7 separate regions of the Homo sapiens genome follow, and all the other regions are linked to region 1. The links are contacts of gene promoters, found by promoter capture Hi-C in human tissues and cell types (Jung and others, 2019). All regions are on one chromosome and are shown on one strand. The core of a region is centred on a gene start or on the middle of the fragment in contact, and the rest is flanking DNA. Distances in the headings are between cores, read along the strand shown.

Region 1 (3,602 bases), core at 10-2,509:
GCGGGGGCGCGCGAGTGTGAGGGTTGCGGGTCCGCCCGGGGCTAGGGCGGTCGCTCTCGCCATTGTCCCCGCGGCTTTCCGCCTGTGAAACACGTCCTTCCTCTGGGTCCTTGAGCCCCTCCCACTTTTTGGAGAGAAGAGCCACTCAGTTTTTTTTCCTAAGGACCTGTTGGTGGACCTCTCCTCGCTTTCGTAACGCGGATATAGCCTTTTCCCTTCCTGGTAGGAAGAGGAAGGAGGGGTCCGGGAAGGAAGCCGATTTCCTTCTTTCCCCCTCTGCACGCTTGCTAGCCCCAGCGATCGCTGCTGGCCCCCGGGTAGGAAAGTGGGGTTCCTGGCCGTTTCTGCGACGCTGGCCTAGGGCTTGCAGCTGCTGTTGAGTGAAAGCACGCAGACTGGCGGGAGCCGATCATTTCTCGAATGAAGAAGAAAAAGCGCAATTCCCTCCTTATGCTCTAGGGAATTGAGCCGCGTCCCAGATCACCCATTCCAGAAATGTGAAACCGGGCCCTCACAAAGTCGTCTCTGGTGAAGAGGTGGCGTGCGGGGTGGGGGTTGGTGGAGGGTGAAGGCATAAGCAAACATATTTTAAAATCCAGATCGTAGGAAGTGTCACCTGGCCCCTCACCCAGGCATGCTTTCTGGGGGAAGCGCAGGGCCAAGCTTTCCCTAGAAAAGCTGGGGCGAAGAGAGAGCAGGCGGCGGCTAAGGAGCTCCTGGCAGGCTGGGAAGGTGGAGAAGTGGGGTGAGGTATTTTTCTAGAAAGTGTAGCCCTAGCTCATCTCCTAGATTGGGGAAGAGGGAACTGAGGGAGGAGGGAAGGAGACCCAGGGCAGCTCCAGGATAGGGAAATGTTGAAGAAGGGACTGCGTTCTCCAACCGAACCCTCCCTCCTGGGAACCGCAGCCCAGCGCGGTAACTGAGTTACCGCAACCGGGCGGTGGGGAGGAAGGGTGGTCCAGGAAACCGGCGAGGGAGAAAAGCGGTGGAAGGGAGAGTCTTCTCCCTGGAGCGGCCCCAGCAGTACAAAGTGCTGGTCACAGCGCCCCTTCCGCCCCTAGATTGACGAGCAGTGGCGTGGAGCCAGCGCGGAGGCTGCCCCCTCCCCCTCCCGAGCCCGCAGCGCGGAGCGCGGTTTAGCACCAACGGAGCCGGGGGCGGCGTCTTTGGGATGGAAAAGGGCCAAAGGGGAGGAGTGGGGTGGGGGTGGGGGTTTCACTGGTCCACTATAAAAGGACCGCTCGGCTGCCCGGTTCTTGCACTCGCTGGAAAGCGGCTCCGAGCCAGGGGCTATTGCAAAGCCAGGGTGCGCTACCGGACGGAGAGGGGAGAGCCCTGAGCAGAGTGAGCAACATCGCAGCCAAGGCGGAGGCCGAAGAGGGGCGCCAGGCACCAATCTCCGCGTTGCCTCAGCCCCGGAGGCGCCCCAGAGCGCTTCTTGTCCCAGCAGAGCCACTCTGCCTGCGCCTGCCTCTCAGTGTCTCCAACTTTGCGCTGGAAGAAAAACTTCCCGCGCGCCGGCAGAACTGCAGCGCCTCCTTTTAGTGACTCCGGGAGCTTCGGCTGTAGCCGGCTCTGCGCGCCCTTCCAACGAATAATAGAAATTGTTAATTTTAACAATCCAGAGCAGGCCAACGAGGCTTTGCTCTCCCGACCCGAACTAAAGGTCCCTCGCTCCGTGCGCTGCTACGAGCGGTGTCTCCTGGGGCTCCAATGCAGCGAGCTGTGCCCGAGGGGTTCGGAAGGCGCAAGCTGGGCAGCGACATGGGGAACGCGGAGCGGGCTCCGGGGTCTCGGAGCTTTGGGCCAGTACCCACGCTGCTGCTGCTCGCCGCGGCGCTACTGGCCGTGTCGGACGCACTCGGGCGCCCCTCCGAGGAGGACGAGGAGCTAGTGGTGCCGGAGCTGGAGCGCGCCCCGGGACACGGGACCACGCGCCTCCGCCTGCACGCCTTTGACCAGCAGCTGGATCTGGAGCTGCGGCCCGACAGCAGCTTTTTGGCGCCCGGCTTCACGCTCCAGAACGTGGGGCGCAAATCCGGGTCCGAGACGCCGCTTCCGGAAACCGACCTGGCGCACTGCTTCTACTCCGGCACCGTGAATGGCGATCCCAGCTCGGCTGCCGCCCTCAGCCTCTGCGAGGGCGTGCGCGGCGCCTTCTACCTGCTGGGGGAGGCGTATTTCATCCAGCCGCTGCCCGCCGCCAGCGAGCGCCTCGCCACCGCCGCCCCAGGGGAGAAGCCGCCGGCACCACTACAGTTCCACCTCCTGCGGCGGAATCGGCAGGGCGACGTCGGCGGCACGTGCGGGGTCGTGGACGACGAGCCCCGGCCGACTGGGAAAGCGGAGACCGAAGACGAGGACGAAGGGACTGAGGGCGAGGACGAAGGGGCTCAGTGGTCGCCGCAGGACCCGGCACTGCAAGGCGTAGGACAGCCCACAGGTAGAAGAATTGCTCTCGTTTGTCTGTCCATTCATCCTCCTCTCCTCACTTTATCTATCCCACGCGACTTCAGGGTAGACTCCTGCTGGCAGGCAGGATCATAAGTCCGCGGACAGAACGGAGGCCTGGAGTGGAGGAATGTGGTTTGAGGTTTGGATTGGTGAACTCAGCTAGAAAACATACTTGCATTTGCCCGAATAATGAATAACCAAGAAAAAAACTGACAAACGATTTTCTGCAAACTAAAGCAAAGCATTTAGGCCGGGGAGGGAGAGTTTGTAACCTGACTCCTTCCACCTTTAGCGAGTTGGAGCTTGTGCGAGTTCTTTCCACTCTGTGTATTTCTTTTTAATGATTTTGTGTGCGCCTTTTGTGCGGGTTGCAACGTTGCGCTGAGTTTTGTAACCGCTGCCTGTGCGTGCATCCTGCGCTCACGGGAGGGCGGATGTGGAGAGGGCAGAGGAGCAATGGTGACCTGGGAAGGTACCCTGAGCGGCTACGCTAGGATCTCTGTTCTGCAGACTTCTGTCCCCTTTCCCCCTTATAAGGCTGACCCAGGCGGGCTGAAGGCGGTGGGGCCCCTTCGCAGAACCTGCTTGGGAGGTCTTTCCCGGGTTTGCCCCGCCTCCCAGTTTGCACTCCCTCTCGCGGCCATAATTCTGCTCTCAAGCACTGTTGAAAGTCACTGCCGGTCCTTCCTGCTACGGCCTTCTCTCTGTGCAGTGCTTATTCTCCAGTTCTTTTTGTTTCATCACTTTGGTGCCTTTTTCCTTCTTTAACTCTCTCGCGTGTCATTTTTTAAAGAATTCTCCCCTTTTCCCCTGCTCCTCTGCTCCTGGGAGCAAAGTGGTCGCAGCCCAGTTTAGGACTTTCTGCAGGGGTTGGGTCTCAGTCCGGAGTGGAAGGCTCTGTTCCAAATAATCAATCATGCCTGGAAGCTGGAACTTATTTCGCTGGGGCAGTGGGAGTGGGGCCAGAGGCTGCTGGGCAGAGTGGGTGGTCCTTGTGCCCGGAATTGGCAAGAGCGGAGCACCCCAGGGACCCCTGGAATGAGACAGCAGAGCTGTGCAGTCTGAGATTCCTTAAGGCCCGGCCCCTTGGCAGCAGCCCAGGCCCTACCCGAGGCCTTCCACGTGGAGCCTGATGATCTCATTCAGGA
Region 2 (3,544 bases), core at 704-3,203, 1.5 Mb before region 1:
TCACATCCTTGAAGCTGGCTTGGTCATCTTGGTAATTGAGTCAATTCTTACAATTCACTCAGAGTAATGAAGATGTTATTTATTGAAAAATATGGCTTAAAGTTACATATGTTGTTTTCAAGAAGTTTTGGCAAGGTCAAATAAAGTAATTATTTTCCTGGAAGATTAAATATAAAAATGTGATTCCATAAGTGATATGTTTATTCATTCATTCAGTGAAGATGTTTATTTCATTTATTGCACTATTCTCAACATTGTTAAGAATATAAAAGAGGTAGTCATATGCTATATGCCTTTCCTTTAAAAATTACAATTTAATTGAGATAACAAGTTATGCACGTGTTTAAAAGTTGATGACAATGCAAGACAATAGCTTCCCAAAAGGTTGAAAGACAGAGTATTGTCAAGTGTCAAAGCTGGGAAAAATAGGAATTTAGGGAAAAGTCACTCTACTTTGAGTGTAGGTTTTATGGGAAAGATGCGGTTGACTAATCCATGATGAATGAAAACTAGTCAATTGTGGAAGAAAAAATGAGAACAAAGAGGGCAAGACAAAGAGTTGAGAAAATAAATGATTTGAGAGATAATGGACAGCTATTCTAACAGCAGCACAGTATCTATGAGTATGAGTTCCTGTTGGAATTGGTGATAAAATAATTGGCTAGATACAGCATCTGCCTTCCAGCTTTCCAGTGTGCAAGATTGACTAATAAAGGCTGATTTCAAGGTAATGTGGAGGGAAATTGATACCATAGTTATTAATGATTTAATCAATTCTTCATTCATACTGTATTTTGTCATTCATTTAGTCAACTTAAGATGTACCTTCATTGTGTCAGAAACTGAATTCCAAAAAAGAGTGAATAAGACATATATGGCCCCTACTCTCTTAATGTTTATAGGCTATTTCTCTAATATGCTATAAATAATAAACAAATAAATTGGAAAGGGCACTAGTAAACAAGAAAATAATGTGCTGTTAAAAAGTAGAGAGTCTACTTAGAGAGGTTATCCATAGTAAGTCAGAAAGTAAAGGAAGAACAAGACTCAATCTTTCAAGGTCAAGGAATCCTTTGGAAAATGCTTTAGTTAACTTTAGACCTCAAGGATAAGTAAGACATGGGAAATGCAGCAGGAGTGAATTCCAGACAGTGAAAATAGCGTATGTAAAGCATGTTTGAAAGAAAGGAAAGCATGATTCTTTTTGACCAGAGAAGTGGAGCTGGGAGAAATGTAGTTAGAGAAAGACAAGCAAGGTCAGATGATGAAGTGTCCTGTGATATTGTCTGCTTATTTAATGTCAATAATAATCTAGAATTTATGATATAAATTGAGCACAAGTATTCAGAATTTCTAAATTGTCAACTACTAGGGTTTCAGAGTTTTACATGGAAGATCAGTGGTAAGTACATATTTTCATATAGGATTTATTCCGCAGTATTAAATCAGTAAAAAAAGAGTGGAAGTTGAAAATTAGGATGTTATAGCTGCACAAGGTAGAATAGACTCTGGGAGGTGATTGGGTTGGAGGCTCAGATGAGTGTGAGGACTATGAAGTGTATAAAGTGGGATGTTATGAGCGATTGGGGCAGAAAAGAGTTGAAGGGGTTCCCAGAAAGAAACCTAGTCCTCTGTAAGAATTATTTTATACATGAGGATACTGCTTGAGAGAGAGAGGAAGAGAGAGAGAGAGATAAAGAGAGAGAGAGATCTTTTCCTTCTTATAAATCTCCGCAGTCCTATTAGATTAGGACCCCACACTTATGACCTAAATAAACTTCCATTGCCTTCTAAAGACAGTGTCTCTTTGTACAGTCATACTGGGTTTGGGCTTCAACACATTAATTAGAGTGGGGCACAATTCAGTCGATAGCAGAAGGCTACATATGTGACCAGTGAAGGTAACTCTTGGGATTCTATATGTGCTCATTATATGTTTATCCCTGTCACAGCCTGATGACATGCTTTATTTTTAGAGTTTTGAAAGGCATACATATTTTGAGTCAGTCCCTGCCTTTCATCACGTGTAAGAGGAACACCACACTTTTAGCCATAGAATATGAAGTTTTGGTTTATTTGCTAAAAACAATAATTGAAATTTCACACATCTATCCCTTAGCATTCAGTCTAAAAAAAAGCACAAGAAATATTATAAGTAGAAGAAATTTTTTATGGAAATTAAAGATTACAATCATGTGGAAAGAACTGGGCATGTGAAGATCGGGAACAGGAAAGTGATATTCAGCAAAAGTCACTAACCGTGACAGCCTGTTCTGGATGGCCAGGTCAGAGATTGCAGAAAAGTTCCAGAAGATGTGCATCCTTGGCCGCTGAATTGGGACTTAAATAAGGCAGTGCTTGAAGAGAGGTCTGTTGAAGCTGTCACCTTGCTAGAGCTTGGTGGTTGGCTTGGGGCTGCTGTTGGTTGATGAAAACAGTAGAAAGATGAGCTGAAACTAGAGCCCAGTGAACACCCTGGGACTTCCTCTCACCCTGGCCTCCCACCACAGTCTTCCAAAATAAATGCCCTCTTCACTCAAGAAAGCTTCTCTTTTATCTAACTCAAATCCAGACCACGTACGGAAGGGGATTCTGGGATAAATTCAGTTGATCCTTGAGTAAGGTGAGGTTAGCAGCACCTCCTCACAGTCAAAAACCCACACATAACTTTCGACTCCCCTAAAACTTAACTAATAGCCTCCTGTTGACTGGAAGCCTTACCAATAACATAGGCAATTACCACATATTTTGTATGTTACATATATTTACTATTCATTAATTGGAAGTGATTATCCCAAAGATCTTTGTCCTCTTTGCCTTCATATTGAGTAGGCTGAGAAGAAGGAGAAGAGTAAGGGTTGGTCTTACAGAAATGGAGAACATACTAATAACTTGGCAAGGTCAAGCAGGATGAGACTGAACATAGATTGCTAGATTTGGCAATTTGGAAGCCATTGGAGACCTTTGAAAGAGTTATTTTATTAGAGTGGTGGTGAGCAGAAAATCTGATAAGAAATGAATTAGAAGTGAGAAAATAAAAGTGCATAAAATACATATGCATATAAACAAATATATGTACAAAATATTTAGAGTTATCAGTTCATGAGCTTACCACTTTACTGGCAGTAACTAGTGTCAGGAGCTATGAAGGATTTGAAATTTTAACCAATCATAAGTTAGCTTGCCACAGTTGCCTGGATGCTGGAAGAAGGCAGAGTTTACTAGTCTTTACTAGACTTTAGTTACTAGTCACTAGCCAGTAGGCAGAATTAAGTCCAGGTTTATATTGTTTTTTTCTTGCTGCCCATTCCCCAATCCCATGGGGTTGCTGTGGAGTTGGTCTATGTGCTTCTTCCTTTGGCTGGTCTTAATTTGTATCCTAGACCTCTGATTAATGCAATTGTGAGTACAATTATTTTCAGTGAGTTCTGTAAGTCTTTCTAGTGAAATTTTGAACCCAAGGTGGCTGTGGTAACCTCTGAATTTGTTACCAACTGGTCTGAAATAAGGGCGGTCCTGGGGACATTCAAAGACAGCTGGTACC
Region 3 (3,659 bases), core at 787-3,286, 1.8 Mb before region 1:
AGGAGGGTATGGTGGGAGGCCACCTGAGCCTAGGAAGTCGAGGCTGCAGTAAGCCATGATCATGCCACTGCACTCCAGCCTGGGTGACGGGAATGAGACTCTGTCTTAAAAAAAAAAAAAAAGGCAGTCAAGAATACCAAGTACCATAATATTAGAGATGAATCAAGCATTCTTATTTTGCTGTTTCCAGGAATAGCTTACAATTTTAATTTATGACCTTTAGAAATATTATTTTGTCCAGGCACTGAACACAAAGTGCCATATCATGAGCTGCTAAGGTAGGAAGAATCAGCAGATTGTTTGGATTGTGAAGAGACAACTTTTATATGCATCTCTCCATGCGGCAATGGCCAATGCTTTGTAGAGCTGAGAGAACTCATAGTATTGTGACTAGAGGTGGCAGTCTGAGAGCTTACAGCAATGGTTGGCTGATTAGCAGTAAGTACTTATGAGGTGTGAAAGGGAAGCAGTGAGAGATTTGATACTGACACCATTAAGGGACTTCAGTATGAAATCAGCACAAAATAACATAATCTTAGCATGTCATGCAAGGTCTTTCATTATTTGGTCCTTGTTTGCATCTCCAGTCTCATTTTGCACTGTTCTCCCTGCCTCCCTCTACTCCAGCCCTGCCAGATGTGCTTCAGTTTCTCAATGCTAAACTGCTTCCCATCTTAGGGCCTTGGCATTGGCTGTGCCTCTGTGTGGAAGGTTCTTCTAGATCTTCATATACATGTAACCTTCCTCAGCAAGGCTATTCCAGACCACCCAATTCAAATTAGCCACCAAGTCGCTCTCTGACCTATTGCCTTGTTGTACTTCACTGTCTGGCTTCTATGTCTAAGTCTTATTTTTCTTGTTTATTTATTTATTTTTTTCCCTTACCAACTAATTGTCTGTGGCCAGCTCACTGGAGCCTAAGCTCTATCATAGCAAGACTTTATATACTTTGTATCACTGTGCCTCAGTGCCTTAAAAAGTGCTTGGTACCTGATGGTTTCTTATTTAATATTGGTGAAGTAACTGAGCAAGAATGACAATTATTTGATTGCCTGCCACGATGGTTAGATCCAATCCTGAGTGATGTGTTGAGTTTTTTGAGTTGGAGAGAGAGAAACTGGAATCCATCCACAAATGAGAAACTAGAATAGCAAAGGGTATACAAATGGTACTTGTAGGGTAGGAACTGGCAATATTCAATCTGGAAAATATTTAAATGACTAGGAAATAGAAAAACAAATTACAAGAACACAGTATCCAACTTGTTAAAAGAAGAATTTTCTGATAATTTTGAGCTTTCCTACAATGGCGTAGGCTAGCATTTCAGCACAGGAATTTTTCATGTGTCAGGGAAGTTTTAGAGAGAATTTTGCAGGTAATAGAATTTAAAAAAACTACAGTTTCTTAAAAATCTAATATTTTATTAGAATAAGACTTTACATAAAAATTCATAACTTTTCAAACAAGACTAATTTTTAAAAATTATCTTTAGCTCATACATTTTAGGCACGGTTCATTCTCAATACTGCTGGATATAAGTCCATATTTCCAATAATTTTTTTATTGTTTCAATGGCAAGTCTTGTCATATCTGATGAAAATTGCCATTGTTTTTCAAAATCTCATGATGTGATTAGCGAAGAACCTCTCCCCAAAGCAGAAGAGTTAGTTCTACATTTCCTTGTTGCTTATATTATTAGCACTATCTTCAGCCTTGAAAAATCTTTTAAAGCTACTTTTTGAGGATTAGAGAAATTATGTCTAGACAATTTGATCTGCAAGCTGAAAGTGATCAGTGACTGAAGCTTCCACTGTCAACCCCTGTTTATTACAAAATGTTCCCTCTGGAGACCCCATGTACTAAACATGATGAGTGGCACTTGATATATGGACCTAGTGAAGATGCCATTATTTGTACTTTAAATATTAGTTATGATTATTTTTTTCTTCTTGTTATAAAAATCAGCATAACTTTTGACTTGTTTTCATACCTCAGTGGGCTATCTTAGACTTCCTGTGATTTATCTACCCCACTCTGGAGATCACTGCACTAGTTCCTGTATAACATCTAGCATTAAAAATATGAAAGCAATCGTTAAGCCTTTCCATTTTGAACCTAATTATAATGCATTAACAAATAAAATTCTAGCCTTGTGGAAGGCAGACAAACATGGCATTCCATACCATATGGACTGTAGTTCTAGTGATTTCACTTTGGGTTTTCCAGTACAAGATTTAAACAAGGGACCAAAGAAAAGTGCCCCTCCTCCTGGTTTTGAAATAACCAGAAGGGAAATAAAATCTACACTTTTTATTTTTATTTTTTTGGCAAGAATTTATTGTAATGAGCAGAATCTGAAAGCTCAGTTCATTCCTGACTTTTTGGTCCTCATGCTGGTGTGCTTATGACTCCAGCTCTGTGACTCAACATTCCTCTCTGCTGGTCCTGTGGTCTAATCTCATTATCATTCTCGGAGGTGGGGGTTTGTGGGGAAGAGAGAGAGAGAGAGAGACAGCGACAGAGACAGAGAGACAGAGAGAGGAAAAGAAGAAGGAAGAGAAGGAAGAGGAGGAGGGGGAAAAGGGGAAGGAGGGAGGAAAGGAAATGGGAAAGAGAGAGACGACCCTAGTAAAACCCCGAAGAATGTATTTCTTTCTTATTCCTTTCTTCCTTCCAGCATCTTACTCCCTGCGTCTTCCTGCTTCATTCAGGGTCATGAACTACAGATCTTTCTAAGAATCATTTGAATGCAGTGGGAAATTAAATTCTTCCCTTATTTGCAGACAAATAAGAGTCAGTTTTATTAATAAATGAGGAAAGGGAGAAGCCACCCATATCACCCTTGTATCTCACCATGCTGGGACATTCCTACTTTGCAGTTAAGAAATTCTGTCCCTGTAGACAAGAAGAGGCATTCTGAACCATGCATTCCAGAGAAACGTTCAGAGATTAGGAAGGGGTTATGGAATTTTATATAGAGTGGGAAAAGGCCTCACTGAAAAAGCAATGCTTACAAGATTGAAAAATATCACTCAATGCTCTGAAGGGTTTTGAAACTCAAAAAGAGAACCACTTTTGTGCTGTCCTTAGAGGCTGCTGTGTTAGCGAATTCTCTAGGTGAGCCTGTGCCATATGCCATGTGGAGGCGTTTGTGCTACTTCCGGTAACACACTTCTTGGATAGGATTTGAATCAGATGTCATCTATTAAATTCCATATTCTAGTGGTTCATATGTCAGCAAAATGTCACTGTAATCTAATTTATATAAGGACTTTTTCTTCCAAAAAATGTCATTTAGTTTTACAAATTGCCTACCATGTTTTTCTTAATAGCCGTAGAGCCCAAGAAAATGGCGAAGTCTCAAGTTGAAATCTTGGCTTTGGCTTACACTATTTGATCATATTTTTCACTCTGAAAACTTCTGGAAAGCTTTTTATTTCAAAGTTTTGTTAAATTGCAAAATGTCTGATGGACAGGTTTCAATATGTTTTTTTTTTAATGTATGAAAACCAGTAGAGTGAATTATCAAAAGTAATCCTAACTAACATTATGCTCCATAGTGAAGAGTTGAAGAAAAATTTAAAAGCCGTACCATAGAAACTTAAAAAAAAACCCACCAGATTATAAGAATATCAGTCTAGTGTAAAGGATATATATGT
Region 4 (3,452 bases), core at 291-2,790, 1.6 Mb before region 1:
GGCTAAAACGGTGAAACCCCGTCTCTACTAAAAATACAAAAAATTAGCCGGGCGTAGTGGCGGGCGCCTGTAGTCCCAGCTACTTGGGAGGCTGAGGCAGGAGAATGGCGTGAACCTGGGAGGCGGAGCTTGCAGTGAGCCGAGATCCCGTCACTGCACTCCAGCCTGGGCGACAGAGCGAGACTCCGTCTCAAAAAAAAATAAATAAAAAAAATAATTAGTTGCTCACTGCCTAACCAATAAATGTTAGTGTACTGGGCAGGGAAGGGAAAGAGAAGAATTAGGTTGATGTAATTCATTTATTATCTGGAAGCTCAATAGGGAATGTGACATGAATGAATTTAAGCAAGTCTGGGCATATTGGGAGGCAATTCTCCATGTATGTCTTGCAAATAAAGGCATTGGTGATGATCACTCTGTCTTTTCGAGGATGTTGGTAGAGCAAACAGCTTTTGAAGATAGAGATGATTTCTCTCTCTGAAGGAAAAGGTGTTTGTCTACTTTGCAGTCTAATAAATACAATGTCTTCATCTGGGGCAAACGTTGGGTTTCTTTTCTGCACCTCTATTAAAAACTGGGGTTTTGCCAGCAAGGGGTTGCTCATCTATGATGCAAACCCATTGTGTGTGCTGTATCCACCTGGGAAAATATGAAGATAAGGATGCTCATTGTGCCTTCAGTAATAAAGTCTTTTCTCTTTGATCTAGGAGTCCAGTGTCTTCAGCCCATCACGTTGAAGCTGTGGGGGCTAATATGTTAGCTTGCAAGTGGCTTAATATCTCATAGTCTTCATTCTTGATAAAGCTTCCCTAGTTTCTCATGGGAGAAGGGCCTACTGGGATTATGGAGTCAGAGAAAGTGATGCACAGAGTTAGTCATTGGAAGCTGCACACATTCTAAATCCAGCAATCACTGTCCTGAGTGAACATGAAGTTCTGCAATTACTCAGTGATCACAAAGGTCCTCAAAGCTAACACTACTCACGAAGATGGTGTGAGTTACATTGGCTGACAAGCTCCAGCCATGGACGCAATTCCTTCTAGAAGCAAAATTTATCTCTAGACTCCTCCTGTATTTTAATTTAGCCACTTTTTTAGGGCCTACAATTTTAGATCTCCACAGGGCTCTTGAAACTTCTTGAACCTCATCAGTAACATGTCCATTAGTGGCATGACCCAAGAGTTCTAGAACATCTATTCAGCAAGTGTGTATCTGGTAAGTGAATATTCCTTCTATGTGTTCCCTTTTGCATCAAACTACACACTGTCATTCCTCCTTTATCTCCAAAAGCTTGAAAATTCCTCACTTGTATCTCATTCTTTCTCTCTTAGAAAACTGATCACCTCTGATGAATTAGAACGGAATGACCAAGCTTTGGGAGAGGCAAAAGAATTTCGGTGTTAAAGACTCAGAGTTTAAGAAGCAACAAAAAGATTATACAGATGTGAATATGTGACCTTCCTCCACCAGGGCATGTTGCCTTGGAGTAAGATAATTTAAGCACACACTTCATAGCCTGAGAACAATTTTGGAAGTTTTTGCTTTATGGATATTTACATAAAGCAAATATGGATATTTACCTAAAGGCTGGACCAAGGCCTAATTCCTCTAGAGCCCCTTGATCATGAACACCATTCCTGTCATGATTCTTAAGGTCTTCCTGCTGTTCTCATTAGCACCATTTTCAATTTGCTGCGCCGTGGCCTTTTTCAGTGGTACAACTGCTGTATTTGCTACAGGCTTTAAAATAATGAGAGTTTTTCTCCTTGAGAAACATTACATCTTACCCCACCTGTCTTAAGAAATTTAGCCCAGGTTTTTCTTTACCGGATGGGAGGACATTTAGGTAGTACCACATAGAGCCACACTGAATGCCAGGGTGGGTACCCAATGTCCTATGGGTCGAATACAGCTCACTGTTTTTGTATGGCTCACACACCAGAGACAGTTTTTACCTTTGAATCTCATTAGGTGACACATTATCCACCCTATAAAGAATTCAGCTTTTCTCATTGGTAGACCTATATTACAAAAAAAGTACTCACTTATCATTGTATTTTGAATTTCATCAACGAAAACATTCTGAGAATTTGTTTTCTCACTTATTTTAAAAGTATATAGTATAATTTGTTTCTTGTCCCTAGACACTAAAAATTTTTTCTGTCTGTCTTTTTACAGAAAAAATTTGCCTGCTCTGCTCAGGACCATCACTCTGCCTGCCTGGGGCGGAACTGGATTTTTTCCCCTGGATTCTTTTCTTGTTGGGAGTGAGTGCAAAGCCTTCCATCTATCCCTGGCTACAAGCTGAAAGGCTGGGCACAGTTAAAAGTTTCTACTTTGCTTCAGGGTGTAAATCTGGGTCCATACAGGTGAGAAATTTTATTCTGCTTCTCTGAACAAAATAGTCACCTGAAAATATTTCCCTCATCAGCCATTTTCACTTTCTCCCTATGGTATCATAGGTAAGTTGTTGAAGATTCTCGGGCTGAATTCAGTTCTCTCACTTGCACGATGTCTAGGTGGTATAAATTCTCTAAGAGTCCTTGAATGTATGTATTAGCTACTCTGTTCTAAGAAAGGATAGAGTTGAAATAACATAATCCAGCAGGTTGAACTACAATATCACTATTTAAAATACGATTATTGGGCCGGGTGTTGTGGCTCACGCCTGTAATCCCAGCACTTTGGGAGGCCGAGGCAGGTGGGTCATGAAGTCAGGAGTTCAAGACCAGCCTGGCCAACATAGTGAAACCCTGTCTCTACTAAAAATACAAAAATTAGCTGGGCATGGTGGCACACGCCTGTAGTCTCAGCTACTCAGGAGGCTGAGGGAGGAGAATCGCTTGAACCCAGGAGGCAGAGGTTGTAGTGAGCCGAGATTGCGCCACTGCACTCCAGGCTAGGCAACAGAGCGAGACTCCGTCTCAAAAAAAGATATGATTACCAAAATATAAAGTTATTGTAATATATAATTTTCAAAGCCCCCACTTTCACTTTTTCTTTCCTTCAGGACCATTTTTTTTAGGTAATATAGTGATACAGAAGAACCTATAAACACTGTGGGTAGAAGAAGGTGAATTTGGCATGTTTTTATTAAAACTACTCTAACATTTACTTAAACATTTTTAAAAAGCCCAAACATTGGAGCCTGGAAGATGAAGAGTTGTATATGTTATTCTTTCCAGGAAGTTAAATAATTATAAAGACACTAAAAATAGCAGCTGTTTTAAAAGAATAGCTTGCTCATAATTTGTCCTAAATTTCCTGGAATTAAGAATTATGATATGGTTTCATCCTGCTGTGACTGCAGTAAGAGAACAAACGAAGCTCCTTTTACGTCAAGGAAAGTGTTTTTGAGGGAAATGAAGACTTTTGTTTCTCCTGCTTCTCTGTTGACTGTTGTGATTTCCCAAAAATGGGTCTTTTACTAGGAATAAGAAAATAGTCATCCC
Region 5 (3,511 bases), core at 245-2,744, 1.6 Mb before region 1:
TGAGAGAGCTTATTTACAAGAATCAAGTAGAACCAAGCATCGTATATTAGAGTGAACTGTAGTGGATACTATTGTGTGTCACCCAGATTAATGCCTTCAGAGTCAAGGTGCTCGTTCTCCAACCCTGAATATGTTGGCTGCTGTTGGATCCTAGCTGTGTTCCCCTGTAGAAATTGCCCTTGATGGAAGAACACTCCCTCAAGTGTCCAGTGTCTAGTCTGTTGGGTATATAAACACCTGGCCCCCTTTGTCTCAGTTTGGGACATCTTTAGAGGGTCACCACAGATTCAGAGTTCTACAGACTCTCTGTGGGATGGGCTGGAGCCTTTGATTGAACTCTACTACATTTCAACTTTTCCTTTGGAAAAGTCTTACTTCTTCACTCCCTTACAAGCAATATTCCTGAGAAGACATGCTGAGAAACCTCCTGTGCACAGATCTCAGTGTCTGTATGCAGAAAATCTGATCAATGACAACATACTTATTTGTTTCCCTGTGGGACAGTTTGGGCAACCTAAATTAGTAACGGCATACCACTTTTTTGCTTCGTATTTACTTAGTTTGGAATGAAAGTGAGAGATTTCGGGTAATAGACAATATAGAGATTATGTAACTCAATATTTTTCTATAATAGATAATCAAATAAAGGAAGGTTAAGTGAATCTTCTCCCTTTGTAAAAGTTATAAAAGAGCAATGAGAGGATGCCCTCCCTTTCTGAGGCTCTCATGTGCACAGAAACGTAAGAAGGAAATCTCATTCCAACTTGGGCATAGATTACTGTATCTTTAGCATATAAAGGGCAAAATTGGAAATGAGAGAATGAAAGTGAAAGCGTGAAAATCAGCTTCTTCCTCGATTCCCTTGCTATTGGATTTTATTCCAGGCTGGCTCTCCCAGTGCTGTGAAACTAATGAGCTGTGTTCTCATTCTGACTCAGTGTAGGCCACACCATTTGCAAGCCTGTTTAGAATGAGAGTGACGAGAGAAAGAATTACAAGTATTCACCTATTTTGTGTTCTTGCAAATTAAGAAATGTTGGATAAAACCCTCGTTTTACTCAATTCTGGGCAATTTCAAATTGAAGCATATTTTTGCCATCATAAAGAGCAGGCTTGAAGTCCTAATACTGGACTAAATTTATTTATGGACTAGGCATTCTCTCACTATGGCAATGTGGTGAAGTGGCCAGCAGCCCAGGACTACTCACTTTTTCCCTGCTTCCAGGAAGTAGCACAATAATTGTTAACAGACATGGCTGTAGAAAGCTTTTCTTTTTTTAAAATTTCTGTGACTATAATGAATTGTATGCCAAACATATACATATGTATAACTAAAAATGTGAGAAGCATGTATTATTCCAGTCACATTTAATTGCATCAACATGGAATTCCTATTGGCTTTTGCAGAAACAGCTAATGCGCCATGTGTGGAAGAATCCAGATGTTTGGATTCTATGCTCTTCCAATCCATTATATGAACATCCATTTATTACAATGTGTTGCATTGTGTGGAATGGAGAACTGCATCACTAATAAGGAAGTAAAGTTGAAGGCTAATTATACCGTTGCTATTTTCAAATGAGGATTTTTCTGCTGAAAGTGTTATTTTCAACATGAAATGGTGAATGATTTCTGCCTTGTGTTTTCATAGAGCCCTTCTGCTTGTTATTACTTACATGGCCATATGTCTCTTTCAGCAACTTCATTCAGCAACTCCAATCACAAACTCCAATCACATGTATACACACACATGCACACACACACACACACAAACACACACAAAAGCACAAACACATGCACTCATCCCTAAAATATAGGAGAACACAGCAAAGGCTTTAGCAGATATAAATGCCCAGGGCATAGAGTGATTGACAACTCATTCCCTTTAAGAAGAATGGGAACAATTTTCTAATGGGGTTTTGAGATGAGATGATATGAGAGGTTGAAAGATGGGATTTTGACAGTTGCAGTTTGGGGAGAGGATAATTTTAAGTGGACAGAATTTAATAAATAAAAGACAGATGGTGAAGAAAAGGCAACATGTTTTAAACATTTGCTGTATTCCCTTTTAAATATATAATTTCTTCTTTTATGACAAAGCAGGGATGGAACATTTCAACAAATCAGACTGAACACATTTAACGATACCAAGCTGTAAGGCCCAGTGCCCTTCAGTGGGAGGTCACTATTTTATTTACCTCAACAACATTAAAACACCCACATCTCAAGTCCCCACCTGATCTGACATTTAGTCTGATAAATAGTTAAGAGAATCAGGTCCGTGGGTATGATCATAGAATGACATGAGCCTATGGATCTCTGAAGGGTCCATAGAGAGCACAGGGCTTAGAAATGTTTCTATCAGGAAAGGCCTTGGAAAAGGAGCAGTTCTCAGATAGTGGTTGCTCTTCTTGATCTCTTTGGAGCAAAAAATCAGAAAAGCAATATGTACTTTAGATTCCAGGGCTCTTGGCATTGTTAATGTTTGAGCAGAAAGCAAGATAGATTGGACTTACAGATGAACGGTATGGATCCTTTTTGATCCACAACTATCAGTACTTGATTTAATTTGCCTCCTTCTCTTTTTACCATTTTAATCACTCCTAGGACTCCAACTTTTACCTCAAAGTAAAAGTCATCTAAACTTACGTCCTTGGCCATCTCTCCCTGCAAAGCTCCCATTCTCCTTTTCCAGCTACCTGTTCTACCTCAAACTGAGCAGTGCAAATCTTGGCTCCCCATTTTACAGGTTATTTTTTTTATATTTTTGGATGCCTCCCAAACCCCACTTTCCACCTTCTGTTGACCCATCTCGGGGCAGGAATTTGCTACTTGTTTTCCATAGTTAAAGCTTTGGCCTCGTATTCAACAATTCTCTTGAACTTTAAAAATAAGTTGGTTGCATCCAACCTCTTTCAGTTCTACCTTTGAAATGAATCATGAATCCATTCATTCTTTTTTATTCCAATCACTGATGGCATAGTCTGGAAATTCAGTTCTTCCTACTCTGCAGCAATAGGTTCTTAAATGGTTCTTGTGAATCTGTTCTTTCATTCCTTGTGTGTATCCATTTCCCAAAATACAAAATATGATGATGAAGGTAACAATAACTAAATGAGGAAGAGGGGGTACAACTACCTACTTAATTGTTATGAACCTTAATCAAGATTAGTTTTGTAAAGCATGTAGCATAGTGCCTGGAATATAATACATCCTGAATAAATATTGGCTATTACGTTTCTCTTTACCTTAGAAACACTGCATGTGTATATGCCAGTTCTCAAACTCACCTAATTCTTCCCCACATCTGGAGCTCCTTGCATCTGTCCCCTTTATTGGAATATCCTTCCTCTCTCTTTTGTCCTCTCTACCTTCAGCAGGCTACTTTCTGTTCATGCTCCAATCTCTGTTCAAAATTATATGTTTTCATTCCAGTCTTCCCTGAGTGCCAAGACCTGTTTAAACCACTGTGCTATGTGCTCCTGCAGAAAGTTGTATTTCTAATATTGAA
Region 6 (3,738 bases), core at 164-2,663, 1.4 Mb before region 1:
ACAACTTCTTTTAGTTGTTATTAGAGTGGCAACCATACCTAAGCCCTATTGTTTGTGTACATGGGTTCTTAATGTTTTCTCAATGAATGCTTTTGATTTGCAGGCTGCAGCCAGTTGAACTCGTGCTTTCTAGGGCTTTAGTCCCCTCTTCTATGAAGATTGCTCCAGACCAAATGTGCACCCCTCTAGTTACTGTGGAACACAACACATGAGCAATGGCCACCAGGTTTCATTTGAGATCACGTGCCATTGAAACTCTTTAGTGATACGAGAACCAAGACTGCTTTTTGTCTTCTTGCTTCCTATTTCTGTCCTATTTCTTCTGGAATTCTAGATAATTATGAGCTACGATTTGCCCTATCCTTCTAGATTACAATGTGATGAATTCCTGCTGATTAATTTATATCTCAAATGCATGGCATTGTGAATTGGTACTATTTCTGTTCCTTTGAAGGAACACCCAATATTTGAAATCACTCTAGAGCTAGAAAAGACAGCAAAGTAAAACAATCTGGTCCTGGAATATAGTAACTTTTCCCAGGGAACAGTAAGAGGGAAATATGCACCAAAGAAAAATTCTATTTTTTTTACTTTCATTATTATATACCTGAAGAAGATATTCTTATTTACAGGTGGGTAATTAACTTATAGCAATTCTAGGACATCAGGAAGCTCATCCTGCAAATTCCCTCGATTCAAAAATAATTTGAGTCAGTAGCTGAGGTTTCAATTCTTTCATTTAATTGGTTGAATCTCATTGGCTTTTTTTTCCAATCACTAACACGTTAGTGTAAATATGTTGAACAGATTCTCTCAAGCCAGAGAATTTGTTCAGAAAATCTCTCTTATATAATGAAGGACACACGACAAATTAAATAGATTTGGATGGGAAGAAGTTGGAAAAAGTGCGTTTAGAATTGATTTAATGCATAACAGCTGAACCCTTAGCTATAGGACAGCTCAGCCAGGGTTCTGATTAGTATCTGATTCAATGTCAGATGCATGAATGATGTAAACTTCTGTACTTACTTCATATCTTTTGAAAGTCCTGACTTGTAGAAAGATTTGGAAATTTTGAATCATCCCAAAGCATTTCTAAATGCTCATATACAAAACTATTATTTTTTGTATTTTTAAATAGCATAGAAGTCAAATGAAAAAATAAATGATAGAGAATATTACCTTAAGTGTGCCATATTATTGACCTTCTTACATGAAAAGTCATTTTCTAAAAAAATACGATACAAATCTTTTCTTTAAAACAACAGGAAACTTTAAATTATTTAAATAATCATACCTACTCTAAAATAACTAAGTGACTTACTCAAGCTTTCTTGTTAGGGATGTCTAACAACTCTAGTGAGTTACATATAGTAAGCTGTCTTTTATGAAGTCAAAATAAGAAAGATATTTCTATAATTCTTCTTTGTTTTCTTTATAACAACCTATATTATAAAAAACTTTATCTTTTTCTTTTTCTTTTTTTTTTCTGAGACAGAGTTTTGCTCTTGTTGCCTAGACTGGAGTGCAATGGTGCGATCATGGCTTACTGCAACCTCCGCCTCTCAGGTTCAAGAGATTCTCCTGCCTCAGCCTCCCGAGTAGCTGGGATTACAGGCGCCTGCCACCATGCCCAGCTAATTTTTGTATTCTTAGTAGAGATGGGGTTTCACCATGTTGGCCAGGCTGGTCTTGAACTCTTGACCTCGTGATCTGCCCGCCTCAGCCTCCCAAAGTGCTGGGATTATAGGCGTGAGCCACTGAGCCGGGCTGCAAAACCTTTATCTTTAACAGCACATGGATGGCTATTGACAGTTCATAAACAAACAAAAAATAAACATTTCACCTAAAGATTTGATCATCTGTAGGAGGCCTATGTAGTATAGTCATAGAACATTATGACATTATATGAGCATTATAAATATAAATTAAACACAGTCTTTAATATGATTAATATTGTCATCTGGCTTTTGTTAATAATTTTGATAACCACTGAATGGAAACAAAATGAGATTTCAAAAGTGCAAATAATGTGCAATTTTTAGAGAAGGTAAAAAACACAATTTCTTTTTTCCTTTAGTAGGCCCACAGCCAAGCCATTGAGAGACAAGTCCATGGGAGACAAATTAGCTCATGCAGCTGAGATGTCCTGGAGATTTTCCACAGCACCACTTGGCCAGTGCCTAGACAAGGTAATTTACCGTATCTCTAAATGTCCTACTCCCAAGAGCACATTCATCTTGCCTCCCCTTGAAGCAGATCCCTTGAAGAGTTTCATGTTTATGAACATGGAGTAGTATCGTTTGGCCAGCAAAATTAGGAAATGAATTGTGTTTTCAGTAAACTCATCTATTACCTTACTTCAGAGTGATTAAACTCATAGTGCTTGATGAAAATAACCAACTTAAAATGAGGAATGAGCATAAAATATGGTTATGCCCTCAGAGTTCTACCTGTGACAAGAAATGATAATCAAATCAGCTGGGCATTATCAAGCAAAATGATGGTAAGTAAAATAGATATAATTTTAGAATCATCATAAAATAATGAAAGAGAATACTTTTATTTAGGTTTGTTTTGATACCAACAGGAATCTTTTTTCAAAGTCTGAATCTCATTAGAAAAGGCATGAAAATACACTGAAAGGCATTTATAGATTTAAAAAGATGTTAGAGGGCTTGAGGAACTTATAGACAAACATTATTATTTTGAAAAGAAAATTGGCCAAAACCTTTTGAAATGCTAACCTCAAAGAGAGAAATGAGTAATGTTAGTTAAGAGTTTTGATTCTAATCAACCTAAATGCCCATCAATGATAGACTAAATAAAAAAAAGTGCTACATATATATACCATGGAATACCATGTAGCCATAAAAGTAATGAGATGGTGTCCTTTGCAGGGACATAGATGGAGCTGGAGGTCATTATCATTAGCAAACTAATGCAGGAACAGAAAACCAAATACCACATGTTCTCATTTATAAGTGGGAGCTAAATCCTAAGAACACATGGACACATAGATGGGAGCAACACACACTGGGTCCTATCAGAAGGTGGAGGGTAGGAGGAGGGAGAGAGGATCAAGAAAAATAACTGTTGGTACTAGGCTTAGTACCAACAGTTGAAATAATCTGTTCAACAACCCCCCGTGACACAAGTTTACATACATAACAAGTTTACGTATATAACCAACCTGCACATGTACCCATGAACTCGAATTAAAGTTAAAAAGGAATTTTGATTCTTAAGAAAGTGGGAGAAAAGTTAACGAGATTAAAATATTGATGAAATACTTTGAAAAGATATTATATAAATATGTATTGTTTTTCTGTGTCTAAACTTCTTAAAACTAGAAATAGTTTAATATTAGAAATTTCCTAAAATATTAATGATACACCACAACACTCTGTTGAGTATTTTTTTTTCCAATTTATACCCAGTTTAAAGAAATCATGGTTTCTACTTTGTACTTAGAAAACTACCTCTTTTTATCTAATCCATTATATGTAGTCAAACTAAGTGTGTCAAATGCACATTTATAGTGCATTTGCACTATAGTCAAATGCACATTTGACACATTTAAGTGTGTCAAATTCACTTTGTGGGCAAAATAAAGTATGGGAATGGTGTGTTTTTCTCCTGACACAGATCACTACTTCTTCATGATAGACACAATCATTTCTTGTGTCTTATTTATCTGCCTTTCTTTCACCTGCATGATTTTTTTTTATTTCTGAT
Region 7 (3,907 bases), core at 612-3,111, 1.7 Mb before region 1:
TTTCTTTCATTTGTGCTGGAGGGGGAGAATGGCTTGCTTCTCTTAGAGGATCTTTGCCCACCTGCTGCCTACAGACACTGCTTCCCACCAGCTCAGTTACGTAAGAAGTGTACAAAGTGGTAGAAGCCGAGTCACCTATCAACTATATTCAGAAATTGATGGTGTTCACTTTTGACAAGAAAATCTCACTTTTTGCCTACTGTCAGATTTCTTAATGATCTCTTAGAGATTCAGAATTGTGATCTGACATCTGTTTGCACCAGAAAACTCACTGCCTCTCTTCTTTTATGCTTTGTCAGTCAAATTGATGCTTGAAATTTTTAGTCATGATGTAAGCTGCTTACACGATGAGGAGAACTTGGGAATTAAGCTTTTTCACAGAAAGTTCAGTCACCAGAGTGAGCAGTCAAACTTTGAATATATAGGAAAGCAAAACTGGGGCCCTTTGCATGCCCCAAGGGTAATATTTTTCAACATTGCTGAGCAAGGAATTGGATCCAGGCTAATGCTCTTGGTGTTAAATCAGACTAACAAATATGCACAATTTTGAATAGGTAAAAATTGCCACACTGCCTTGACATGGGTCATTCTTATTCCATTCTATTTGTATTATGATATGTTTACTTAGCTCTCTTAAATATATATTATTTAAATTTACAAATTAATAAAAACATTAAAAAATAGACATCTACATTTAAGTATACTTTTATTTTCTTTTTCTAAGACAGCTATTTTAAATCATGGTTTATTTAAAGCATGGTTGCTGAAGTATAACTTCCAGAAAGGTAAAATAATGACTCTCATGAAAATACAAACATGCATTAAAGGTCTTATTAAATTCCTTAATGAGGAAACTAATAAGAGGTTCAAACCTGTTCAAAGAAGAATTTGAAGAATATACAATTATATATCTTAAATACATATGCACGTGTATATATAAACACATACACACAAGAATGCTGAAATAAATTTGCTACTGTATGATTCAAAATTGGTTAATAGTCTATAAGGCAATAAAATATAATGTAATGACATATGTTTAGGGTCATCTACAGTGTGGAAATGAATATTTCTACCAACAGAATTCATTTGCATTGATATGGTCAAAAATCACTTGCATTACCATCCATTTTCTACAACTCGATTTCTACCCCTACCGAGTTCACAAATAGCCTAATTGTTACAAATACAATCAAAAGTACGTTATTCAATAGAATCTGATAACCTCTGGAGTCCATAACTCCACCAAAAGAACATTTTTTTCCCATTTCCAACTCTTAGACAATTTTCCTGACATTACATTTAATTCCATATCTGAATTTGGGGAGAGGTAAATCTGTTTTTTAGGTGCCATTCTGGAAGCAAGTGTGAGCCGTTGCACATACTTACAAATTTATTAGTTATGTGGCTAAAATTAAGTCCCAATATTACGTGTGCTGCCTTGACATCTAGTAAAACTGGGAGGGCCTTGAATGGCTTAGCCACAAATTTCCCTCCTCACTTTCCTCCCATGGATAAGGTCCCCTATCAAACAACCCTTTTTATCAAGGAAACCAGGGACAGTTTCTGCTTATCCCTGAGTAGAAGATTTCAGTTCCCTGCCAGTCCGTATGATAATTCAAATGAGCCAATGTGATCCTCCCATGGGATCCAGGGGGACACCTCAACCTCTTTAAACTACTAAACCTGCCTCCCACACCTCCTGATTGTTCACTCTGTTCCCCAGTGAAACCCCGCTGTGGCCCTGTGTGGTTCATCTGTTTCCACTGGTCTGTGATTATATGCAACTAACAAGTACTGTCAATATCGTCTGTCCTGTTTCAGGTGTTGGATGTTCAACCATCCCCATCACCTGAGGGTGGAAATCCTTCCTTCACCAGAAGGGTGAATAGGAGGTGATTACAACCTTGTTATGGAGAGCTGAATCAGAGCAGAGCAGGAGAAGGGAAAATTATCTTTCTATCTGAGGGCAAAAAGATTTAGGTTCAGCAGAAAGGGGTAGTGAGATTTATGTTATTGGCTGAAAGCATGCTTTAGATAGAAAAAAATTTATATGTAAATATTGGAAACAAAGGGCGGAGTTAAGCTTTTCCAGGAGCCTGAAAGATTTTTCAAAATGGCTGGAGTGTATGCAGAGTGCAAAACAGTGATTGTTTAGAGATAGGATATAGCAATGACAGCTGAGTTTAGGAGTTTAGACTTGATCTTAAATTAATGGAAACAATGGAAGGGGTGTGATACAATCAGATTTGTTTTGAAAAAATTGTTTTAGCTTTAACAGAGAGTAAAGGTTGTTTTGACTGGAGTTTGGGAGCCAATTAAAAGATCATTAAAACAATCGATATAAATGTGGTGTCTTCTTCAAAAGTAAGGGTACTAGAAATAGAAATAAATGGACTGACTTGGGTAATATTGAGGAAGTAGGATTTAGAGGGTTTAATGATGAATTGGATGTGGGTAGGGGTGTCAGATTTATCAAATAAAACTACATGATGTACAGTTACATTTGAATTTCAGATAAATCACTTTTTTAAAAAATATAAGGTCAATATTTAGGATAGATACTAAAAATTATTTATTGCTTAGCTGAAATTCAAATGTAGCTGGGAAACCTGCATTTTATCTGGCAACCCTAGATATGTTGTTAAGTAAAGTAAATTGTTGAGGATGGGTCTTGGGTTTTGGAAATAAAAAGTTGTTAGGTGGGCAAAACAAGGGTGTTTCATTTCCCAGAATATCAATGCTTATTGCAAATCTATTAATTTCTTATGGATAAAGAAAACTTATATCAAAATACATCTTCCTGAAGGTAATTTTATGTTTTTGTCTTTTTCATGAAACATGGTATATTTTGAAATTTCTTTATTTCAGGGAGAAAAGAATGGGAACTGTGAGGAAAAGAATGACATGAACAATGGGAAGACCAAGGTCCCAGCACAAGTAGTAGATGCTGAGGAAAGAAGAAGTATGTTGTGGAGTAAGTGAGTGGGCCTGAGTTGAGAAGATCCTGGCCTTGGATTTTAAAACTGTCAGGTGACTATGGTTGTGCTGGTCTCTGCTTTTCATTATGGATATATGTGAGCTTTATTTTCTATTAAGGTAAGTGGCTCCAGTCAACACTGTGCCAGGGTTTCTTAATTTTCAAAGGTGAACAAATGAGATTCTGGACATTAAATCTCAACATCTTAAGGTAATGGTTCACAGAAATTAATTTGGGAGGAATCATAGACCAAAAAGCTAGGGCTGGGCGCAGTGGCTCACGCCTGTAATCCCAGCACTTTGGGAAGCTGAGGCGGGTGGATCACTTGAGGTCAGGAGTTCGAGACCAGCCTGGCTAACATGGTGAAACCCTATCTTTACTAAAAATATGAAAATTAGCCAGGTATGGTGGCAGGCGCCTCCCATCCCAGCTACTCGAGAGGTGGAGACAGGGGAATTGCTTGAACCCGGGAGGTGGAGGTTGCAGTGAACCGAGATTGCACCATTGTACTCCAGCCTGGGTGACACGAGTGGGACTCCATCTCAAAAAACAAAACAAAACAAACCCAGAAAGGTAAAAGCTAAACCTACAGAGCTTCTGGGAAAAAACATTAGAGTGCATCTTCATAATCATGGCACAAAGATTTCTTAAATGGGATTAATAAAGAGAAACCATAAAAAATTATAAATTGAATTTTATAAAAATGAAAATTCTATTTATGAAAGACATCATTAAGAAAATGGGGATAAGACATATAGAGAAATATATTAAAAATACATATATCTGGCAAATAACTTGTGTTGATATTTTAAAAATTCCAAATCTCAATAATAAAAGACAAACCTAATTTAAAATAGGGAAAAAAACTGAAAGAGATACTTCACAAGAGAAATTTATGAATGGCCAATAAACTCATGGAAAGGTAGT

The links. The method cuts DNA at HindIII sites, captures the fragments that hold promoters and counts their contacts. A contact is called where the count stands out against the background at its distance.
Region 2: a fragment that was not itself captured here is called in contact with the fragment with the promoter of ADAMTS1 in region 1 in 2 of the 25 tissues and cell types used here (H1 embryonic stem cells and dorsolateral prefrontal cortex).
Region 3: a fragment that was not itself captured here is called in contact with the fragment with the promoter of ADAMTS1 in region 1 in 2 of the 25 tissues and cell types used here (dorsolateral prefrontal cortex and lymphoblastoid cells).
Region 4: a fragment that was not itself captured here is called in contact with the fragment with the promoter of ADAMTS1 in region 1 in 3 of the 25 tissues and cell types used here (dorsolateral prefrontal cortex, mesenchymal stem cells and spleen).
Region 5: a contact is called between a fragment that was not itself captured here and the fragment with the promoter of ADAMTS1 in region 1, in 1 of the 25 tissues and cell types used here (hippocampus).
Region 6: a contact is called between a fragment that was not itself captured here and the fragment with the promoter of ADAMTS1 in region 1, in 1 of the 25 tissues and cell types used here (dorsolateral prefrontal cortex).
Region 7: a contact is called between a fragment that was not itself captured here and the fragment with the promoter of ADAMTS1 in region 1, in 5 of the 25 tissues and cell types used here (IMR-90 fibroblasts, dorsolateral prefrontal cortex, mesendoderm cells and 2 more).

Annotation. Positions count from the first base shown.
Region 1 is chr21:26,843,066-26,846,667 of GRCh38, reverse strand. It overlaps ADAMTS1 (ADAM metallopeptidase with thrombospondin type 1 motif 1), which reads left to right and starts at 1,259. Exons shown (of 9, transcript NM_006988.5): 1 at 1,259-2,443. The coding sequence starts at 1,714. RefSeq lists enhancers at 1-474, 475-1,075, 3,513-3,602. The HindIII fragment of the contact is 5,494 bases long and covers 249-3,602 here.
Region 2 is chr21:28,294,751-28,298,294 of GRCh38, reverse strand. No RefSeq gene overlaps it. Among named protein-coding and RNA genes, the nearest start is that of LINC01695, 68 kb to the right of the region's middle. The HindIII fragment of the contact is 7,138 bases long and covers 1-3,544 here.
Region 3 is chr21:28,614,254-28,617,912 of GRCh38, reverse strand. It overlaps a transcript of HEMK2 not described here. Among named protein-coding and RNA genes, the nearest start is that of LINC00161, 77 kb to the right of the region's middle. The HindIII fragment of the contact is 4,494 bases long and covers 1-3,659 here.
Region 4 is chr21:28,429,139-28,432,590 of GRCh38, reverse strand. No RefSeq gene overlaps it. Among named protein-coding and RNA genes, the nearest start is that of LINC00161, 110 kb to the left of the region's middle. The HindIII fragment of the contact is 3,705 bases long and covers 1-3,392 here.
Region 5 is chr21:28,452,861-28,456,371 of GRCh38, reverse strand. No RefSeq gene overlaps it. Among named protein-coding and RNA genes, the nearest start is that of LINC00161, 85 kb to the left of the region's middle. The HindIII fragment of the contact is 5,820 bases long and covers 1-3,511 here.
Region 6 is chr21:28,210,694-28,214,431 of GRCh38, reverse strand. LINC01695 (long intergenic non-protein coding RNA 1695) reads left to right here. Exons shown (of 6, transcript NR_126012.1): 3 at 2,084-2,192. Among named protein-coding and RNA genes, the nearest start is that of LINC01695, 16 kb to the left of the region's middle. The HindIII fragment of the contact is 3,011 bases long and covers 1-2,918 here.
Region 7 is chr21:28,576,345-28,580,251 of GRCh38, reverse strand. It overlaps a transcript of HEMK2 not described here. Among named protein-coding and RNA genes, the nearest start is that of LINC00161, 39 kb to the right of the region's middle. The HindIII fragment of the contact is 4,643 bases long and covers 1-3,907 here.